2 separate regions of the Homo sapiens genome follow, and region 1 is linked to region 2. The links are contacts of gene promoters, found by promoter capture Hi-C in blood cells and fetal thymus (Javierre and others, 2016). All regions are on one chromosome and are shown on one strand. The core of a region is centred on a gene start or on the middle of the fragment in contact, and the rest is flanking DNA. Distances in the headings are between cores, read along the strand shown.

The links. The method cuts DNA at HindIII sites, captures the fragments that hold promoters and counts their contacts. A CHiCAGO score of 5 or more calls a contact.
Region 1: a contact is called between the fragment with the promoter of APOA5 here and the fragment with the promoter of RPS25 in region 2, in 1 of 17 cell types (monocytes). The highest score is 7.1, in monocytes.

Annotation. Positions count from the first base shown.
Region 1 is chr11:116,790,154-116,793,564 of GRCh38, forward strand. APOA5 (apolipoprotein A5) reads right to left here and starts at 1,726. Exons shown (of 3, transcript NM_001371904.1): 1 at 1,659-1,726; 2 at 1,433-1,544; 3 at 1-914. The coding sequence starts at 1,707. The HindIII fragment of the contact is 6,000 bases long and covers 1-2,660 here.
Region 2 is chr11:119,016,156-119,019,911 of GRCh38, forward strand. RPS25 (ribosomal protein S25) reads right to left here and starts at 2,188. Exons shown (of 5, transcript NM_001028.3): 1 at 2,127-2,188; 2 at 1,803-1,898; 3 at 1,207-1,390. The coding sequence starts at 2,129. It overlaps TRAPPC4 (trafficking protein particle complex subunit 4), which reads left to right and starts at 2,611. Exons shown (of 5, transcript NM_016146.6): 1 at 2,611-2,815; 2 at 2,988-3,162. The coding sequence starts at 2,641. RefSeq lists enhancers at 1,910-1,979, 2,000-2,229, 2,484-3,182 and a silencer at 2,470-2,589. The HindIII fragment of the contact is 1,015 bases long and covers 2,120-3,134 here.

The DNA of each region.
Region 1 (3,411 bases), core at 476-2,975, 2.2 Mb before region 2:
CCTGGTCATGAAGGCTGTGAGTGATGTCTTCCCACAGGTCATCCAGACGGGCCTGCAGCTTGCTCAGAACCTTGCCACTGTCTGTTTGTTGAAACTCTGGGGCGAAGGCACTGTGGCCTGGTGGAGGTGGCGCCAGCTGCTGCTGGACCTCCTCAGTCTCCTGGTCGATGGCGCGAGTGAAGGCAGCTATCTGCAGGTAGGTGTCCTGGCGGAAAGCCTGAAGTCGCTGGCGCACCTCCTCGGAGAGCATCTGGGGGTCCGGGCCGGCCCCTTCCTCAGTCCCAGTGCCTGCAAAGGCTCTGCTGAGCTCTTCGCGCAGCTGGTCCAGGTTCTGCTGGATGCGTGCGTGCAGGGCCTTGGCCTTGAGCGTGAGCTTCCGGGAGAGCACCTGCACGCAGCGACTGAGGCGCGCGGGGCTGGCGGGGGCGTGCGGAGCCACACTGCGGTGCAGCTCCTGCACGTGGCGCCCGATGCCGCTCACCAGGCTCTCGGCGTATGGGTGGAAGAGCTCTTTGAAGCGGCCGGTGTGGTGCACCACGCGGCTCTGCAGTCCCTGCAGCAAAGCCCAAGCCTCGTCCACGCCCCCCAGCAACTGGGCCTTGGTGTCTTCCCCCACCACGCGCAACTGCTCCTGCAGCTCCTGCACGCGCAGGGCCACCTGCTCCATCAGATCCATCGTGTAGGGCTTCAGTTGCTGCCGCAAGCCCTCCAAATTCCAGCCCACCAGCTCGTGCGCCTCTGCCATGTAGGGCTGGAGGCGAGCCTTCACCTCCTCCAACTCCTCCTGCAGCTGCCGCCGCATGCCCACCGGGTCCTGTGGGAGCCGAGGAGCCTCGCTCCCACTCAGAGGCCTCAGCTTTTCCAGGAACTTGTTCATATTGTTGAGGTCTTGCTCAAGGCTGTCTTTCAGGGTCCTGGAGAAGGGGACAGATATCCAGGCCGTCAGACTGCTAGCCTCCATCATCTCCTTTGTCCCCAAGTCATCGCGCACTGATCCTCTGGGGGAACCAAGGACGCAGGGCGTTGGCCCCAGGGTCGAGGGCTCTTGTCCTAGCCCTGGCCAGTAACAACTCACGCACGAAGCACAAACACATTGCCCATACAAATCCAGACCTACAACACTCTCCAAAGAAACATAGATGCGCCACATCATCCTTTGATTCTGGGGACTGCAGCGGGCGTCCTCCCGATTGATCCCAGGTCCCGCGCCTCAGTGAGCAAGGGGGCAACAGCTACGGAGTTGTCAAGGCGGGGGCTGCAGGCAGAGGGCGCTAAAGAGCCCAGGATGGCCGGGATCTGCAGACAGAGCTAGCACCGCTCCTTTCCTCTGTCCCAGCAGCGGCCACAGAGGTTGAGGCAGCAGAGGCAGGTCATCATGGCATGGCCCAGCTGTCTCCTCCCTTCGCCTACACCCCTTCCCCTGGGCACTCACGCGGGCTCGCGAGCCATCTTCTGCTGATGGATCTGCTCCACCCTGCCTTTGTCCCCGCTGGTCTGGCTGAAGTAGTCCCAGAAGCCTTTCCGTGCCTGGGTGGCCGAAAACGCTGTGGAGAGGGACTAGGTAATCAGGGCCTGGGCTCTCCTCCCCCAGGGTGGACAGGGCCCTCTGGCCAGCCTCCACCCACACCCCCACGTTGAAGTCAGGGTCGGAGACCCACCTGAAAGAAGAGCCAGAGCCCAGGTGAGCACGGCAGCCATGCTTGCCATTACCTGCTCTGAGAAGACAGGTGGAGGGAGGCCTGGTTAGGGGAAGAAGGAGACGAAGGGACATGGCGCAGGGGACTTGCCCAGGGGGCCTCTGCAGGGGCAACTGCCCGAAATCCTGTTACCCCTTCCTTGGGCTGGGGAGCACAGAGCTGTTGGGGCTCAAGAGGACTGACCTAGGTGAGTCAAGGAGGCTAGGGTGTCTTCCTCAGACATGGGAAGAGGGCGTGCTCTTGCTACCTCAGTCACATAGCAGGGAGCGTGGTGCTCTAACCCCTTCGCAAAGGTCCCAGACCCCAGGAACAGTTCTCTAGGCCACTTCTACCACCTCTCCCCTGCCCACCTGTCTCCCTCCCTCCCATTTCATGGTGGAAAAACTGAGCCATAATGAGGGCGAAGAGGCAACTCTGCCAAAATGTTCCAAGAGGACGTCTTAGGGGCCACCCCAGGCTCTCCCCTGAGGCCACCTGCAATGCCCTCCCTTAGGACTGTGACCCCCATCCCTCTGCCCCAGCTGCTCACCTGCTCACGTCTGGGCACAGAGAGCAGACATTCTGCTTTATACTCCAGGGCCCTGAGCCTCTGGCACCAATTGCTCTGAGTAAATACCACGTGGAAGTTCAAAAGAAGTTGACCTCAGCTGCCTCCCAGCACTCACCTCCTGCCCTTTCCCTGGCACCCAGAGGGTTAATGAGTGCCCTGGTATCAGGGGCTGCCCCAGTAGAGAAGTGCTTCCCAGGAGCTTTACGGGGGATGGGGCTGAACTCCTCACCCAGTTTCTCCCAAACCCCATGACCTTTAACCTTCCCACTGACCTGCTGGCTGGCCCACCAACAGAGAAGAACCTGTTTGTCTGCCAAGGGCCCCTCTCTTACACAACTACCCAGAGTCACTGTGTCCCAGCCGGCAAGATGGACAGTGTTCACCTACCAGCCAGAACCCGAGCAGCCCCTGAAAGCTTCACTACAGGTTCCGCAGGCATCCTCAGCCAGCATTCATAGGGTTAAAGACCAACCACATCCCTCTTTATGAAACAATCCTGGAACAAGCAAGGGAAGCCAGGCAGGGTGAAGATGAGATGGCAAGAGGCATCTGGGCCAGGGACTCTGAGCCCCAGGAACTGGAGCGAAAGTGAGATTTGCCCCATGAGGAAAAGCTGAACTCCACTCGCAGGGCCTCTGAGGAGAGCAAGCCCAAATGCTCAGATCTTCTCTGATGACACACCCACTCCGTCTACAGTACTCATACACACGTTCACAAGCTCCCGATTCTTGGTCCTAAATGCATCTTGAATCAATCCCCTCTCCTCCATTTCCACTACCATCATTGCACCAGTTGTCTGTCACCTTGATTGCATTCATAGCCTCCAACAGGTCTTTCTACCACACTCCTGCCCATTTAATTCATCCTCCACTGTGGCTCATCCTGACTCATTTCCAGTCTCATCTGCTGCCACATAAAACCACGGCATTCCCTGAGCCTTTATACAGGCTTCCCTCTGCTTGAAATAGCCTATCCCCTGGTGAATATATATTCATTTTTTAGAGTTAGTTTGTATTAGTTAGAATTAGACTTGGCTGCAAGGGACATATATATGTGTGTATATATATACACACACACATGTATATTTTATATTCTTGCATACATATATGTATATATATGTGTGTGTGTATATATACACATATATATATACAAGATACTGCTCTT
Region 2 (3,756 bases), core at 938-3,437:
CACATGCTTGTAATTCCAGCTACTTGGGAAGCTGAGGTGAGGACCACCTGAACCCAGGAATTGGTGGTTGCATTGAGCCAAGACTGCCCCTCCGCACTCCAACCTGGGCAACAGAATGAGACTCTAGTAAGGTTTGTTTTGGCCGGGTGCAGAGGCTCATGCCTGTAATCCCAGCACTTTGGACAGGTGGATCTCTTGAGCCCAGGAGACCAGCCTGGGCAACATGGCAAAACCGCATCTCTATTTAAAGAAAAGGAAAACAAAAAGACAGAGTTCTCTCAGAGGTGCCCAGAATGGTCTTAAAACTCCTTGGCTCAAATGATCCTCCTGCTTTGGCCTCCCAAGTAGCTAGAAATACAAGGGTACCACTGCACCTGGCTCCAGAATTGCTTAATCTGACGTTCGGTAACCGAGAATCCTAGTTTTTAACGATCATCTATCCTTACTTTTCCTTTAAATTAGGGCTCCATTATCTTCCACCCCCCCCCCCTTTCTGAGACAGTCTTTTGCTGTCACTAAGGCTGGAGTGCAGTGGTGTCATCTCGGCTCACTGCCACCTCCATCTCCTGGGTTCAAGGGATCCTCATGCCTCAGCATCCTGAGTAGCTGGGATTACAGACGTGTGCCCCCACGTCCAGCTAACTTTCAGTAGAGCAGGTTTTCACCATATTGGCCAGGCTGGTCTTTAACTCCTGACCTCCGTTGATTCACCCGCCTTGGCCTCCCAAAGTGCTAGAATTATAGACGTTCAGTCACTATAGTTAGCTGAGCCTTATTATTGTGGAATTATGGTAATCAGACCATACTACTGAGTAGACCGTACTAAATTTCTGGTTTTAAAATTTAATACATCAACAAAATATTTACCATAAAGGTTTTAAACATTTTCAAAGTTGTTTCAAAATAGTAATCTAATTATTTCAAAAACGGTTGTCCCTGTAATTCTATGCATCCATTTACTCGAAACATAAAAGATCCTTGGGCTTCACTAAACTGCCACAGGGTCCACGGCACAAAAGTGGCTAAGAACCCTGAGAATTCATCTCAGGATCAGGAGTAAGACGTCAGAATTACATTACTAACAGCCAATGGTCAAGCCACGCTTTTTTTTTTTAATTCTGCTTTTCCAGCAAAACCACTGAAGATGCTTAACATGGTCAAGACAATTTAACCTACAAAAACACACATGTAGGATACACCCCTCACCTTTACTAAGGAGCTCCTGAAGGGCTGCCCTGGCCAGGGAGCCTCGAATCTTCAGTCTCTCAGAGACCACAGCTGGGGTTATAAGTTTATAGTTGGGAACTTCCTTACAGAGTTTATCATAGGTAGCTTTGTCAAACAAGACTAAGTTATTGAGCTTGTCCCGAACTTTGCCTTTGGACCACTTCTGCTCACCAAAACAAAACAGAAACAAGTTAGTATTTCTGGCAGAAGCACCCTTTCCCTCTCGAGTAATCTGCGTCAGAGAAATCTGTTCCACCGTTATCAAGGATAAATTACACATTACTAAAACAAAAACAAAAAAAAAACACCGACACGTTTTTGGCCTTCAAACAGGGGCCGAGCCCCACTAGATCAGTTAAAAATAACACAGCAGGCACAGCGGCAGACACTTCGCACAACAGACCCATTTTCATGATCCTAATGGGAAAAAGAACGAGTGGTGACGGGAAGATAAACTCTCACATTTTGACTCTAGAAATCTACACCTGAAAAACCACTTACTATACAAGTTACCTATTACTAGAGGATTACGAGAGAGTTACCCCTAGTCTCTTTCAGAGAGGTCTTATTTCTACCTTCTTTTTGGCCTTGCCCCCGGATTTGTTCACTGGGTCTTTGTCTTTCTTGGCCGACTTTCCAGCGTCCTTCTTCTTCTTGTCGTCCTTAGGCGGCTGTAGGAGGGCAGCGGGAATGCAACCAGGTCCTCAAATAGCGCCAAAGTCCCCTAATACTGCGCCCTCAGCCCCCGCAAACTCCACCACCAGAGCACATGGGCCAAGCAATAACCGCGCCCGCCCTGCAACCGAGGCCGGCAGGCCAAGGAGCGCTCCCGCCGAAGGCTCTCCCCACTGAGTCCTCAAACCCAAGAACGCCGGCGACTTCACACCCCTGAAGCTTACCATTGCGAAGCTCGGAGAATAGCAGCAGACACCGCAGCCTCGTCAAGATGTCGGACAAAAAGGAAGCGCTGCTCAGAAACGGGCCCAAAAACCACCGTCCGCTGTGAGTACTTCCGGGGCAAAAGGCGGAGCCAGGCAGAAGAAGTCCCACGGCGAAGCGCTCGCCCTCTAGCCTGAGGCGGAAGACAGGAAGTGGATTCTAGTTCCCAAGCCGCACCGCCTAAATACTGCCGGAGTCTGCGCTAGTTGTGACGCATACTATAGCGCTGTTTTCCTGCACTGATAAACGAAAAGCAATCCACCAGGTCTCGGCAGCTAACTTTCCGGCACTACTTATGCCCGAGCGTGTCGCTCCCAGTGCGCAAGTGCAGCAGGTGGCTGCACGGGGGGCGCGGGAGGAGGAGGAGGAGGAGGAGGAGGCTGGGGTGGGGCCGGCGGCAAGTGCTGTGATGCGGTTCCGGGGAGGGGCCGTCGGGTAGAGGCTGAATACCAGTTTCCGAGCGGCAAGGCAGCGATGGCGATTTTTAGTGTGTATGTGGTGAACAAAGCTGGCGGCTTGATTTACCAGTTGGACAGCTACGCGCCACGGGCTGAGGCTGAGAAAACTTTCAGTTATCCGCTGGATCTGCTGCTCAAGCTACACGATGAGCGTGTGTTGGTTGCTTTCGGCCAGCGGGACGGCATCCGAGGTGGGCTAGGCTCGGGCCCGTGGCGGGTGCGGGGGTGGGAGGGCCCCAGTGCTGTAGAAGTGGGCTGGTTGTAGGTGCGGGGTTGGGGGAAAAGGGGTTGTGTCGGGTCCCTTGTCCCCTCGGCGGAATCCCCGGGCTGCACCTTCGCTGACCGTTAGCTTCACCTCTGCAGTGGGTCATGCAGTGCTGGCCATCAATGGCATGGACGTGAATGGCAGGTACACGGCCGACGGGAAAGAGGTGCTGGAGTATCTGGGTAACCCTGCTAATTACCCGGTGTCCATTCGATTTGGCCGGCCCCGCCTCACTTCTAATGAGAAGCTTATGCTGGCCTCCATGTTCCACTCGTAAGTCCCCCGTCTCCTGAACGGCAGCGCTTGTAATTTGTCTACCTTTTCTTAAATCGTCGTTCTGGTGTTATGAAAAACGCAACCGATCCAGATCTAGATTTTAGGTAATAACGGCAGTGGTGTCATCTTTTTTTGCTGGGTGGGGAGGGGCCGCGGAGTTACCCAGGCTGGAGCGCAGTGGCGGGATCTCGGCTCACTGCAGCCTCTGCCTCCCAGGTTCAAGCGATTCTCCTGCCTCAGCCTCCCGAGTAGCTGGGATTACAGGCGCGTGCCACCACGACCAGCTAATTTTTGTATTTTTAGTAGAGAGGGGTTTTGCCATGTTGGCCAGGCTGGTCTCAAACTCCTGACCTCAGGTGATCCACCTGCCTCGGCTTCCCAAAGTGCTGGGATTACAGGAGTGAGCCACCGCGCCCGGCCGAGGTGTCATCTTACTTAAAGTCAACTTCTCTTCTCTGAGCCTTAGTTTCTTCATATTTAAAGAAAGCCAGTTTAACTAAATGACCTTTAAACTTTTTCTGCTCTCAATTGTGATATCAGATGTGCCGGCCTTTGCTTAAACACAAGCTTAGTAAGCGTGGCACATATTCC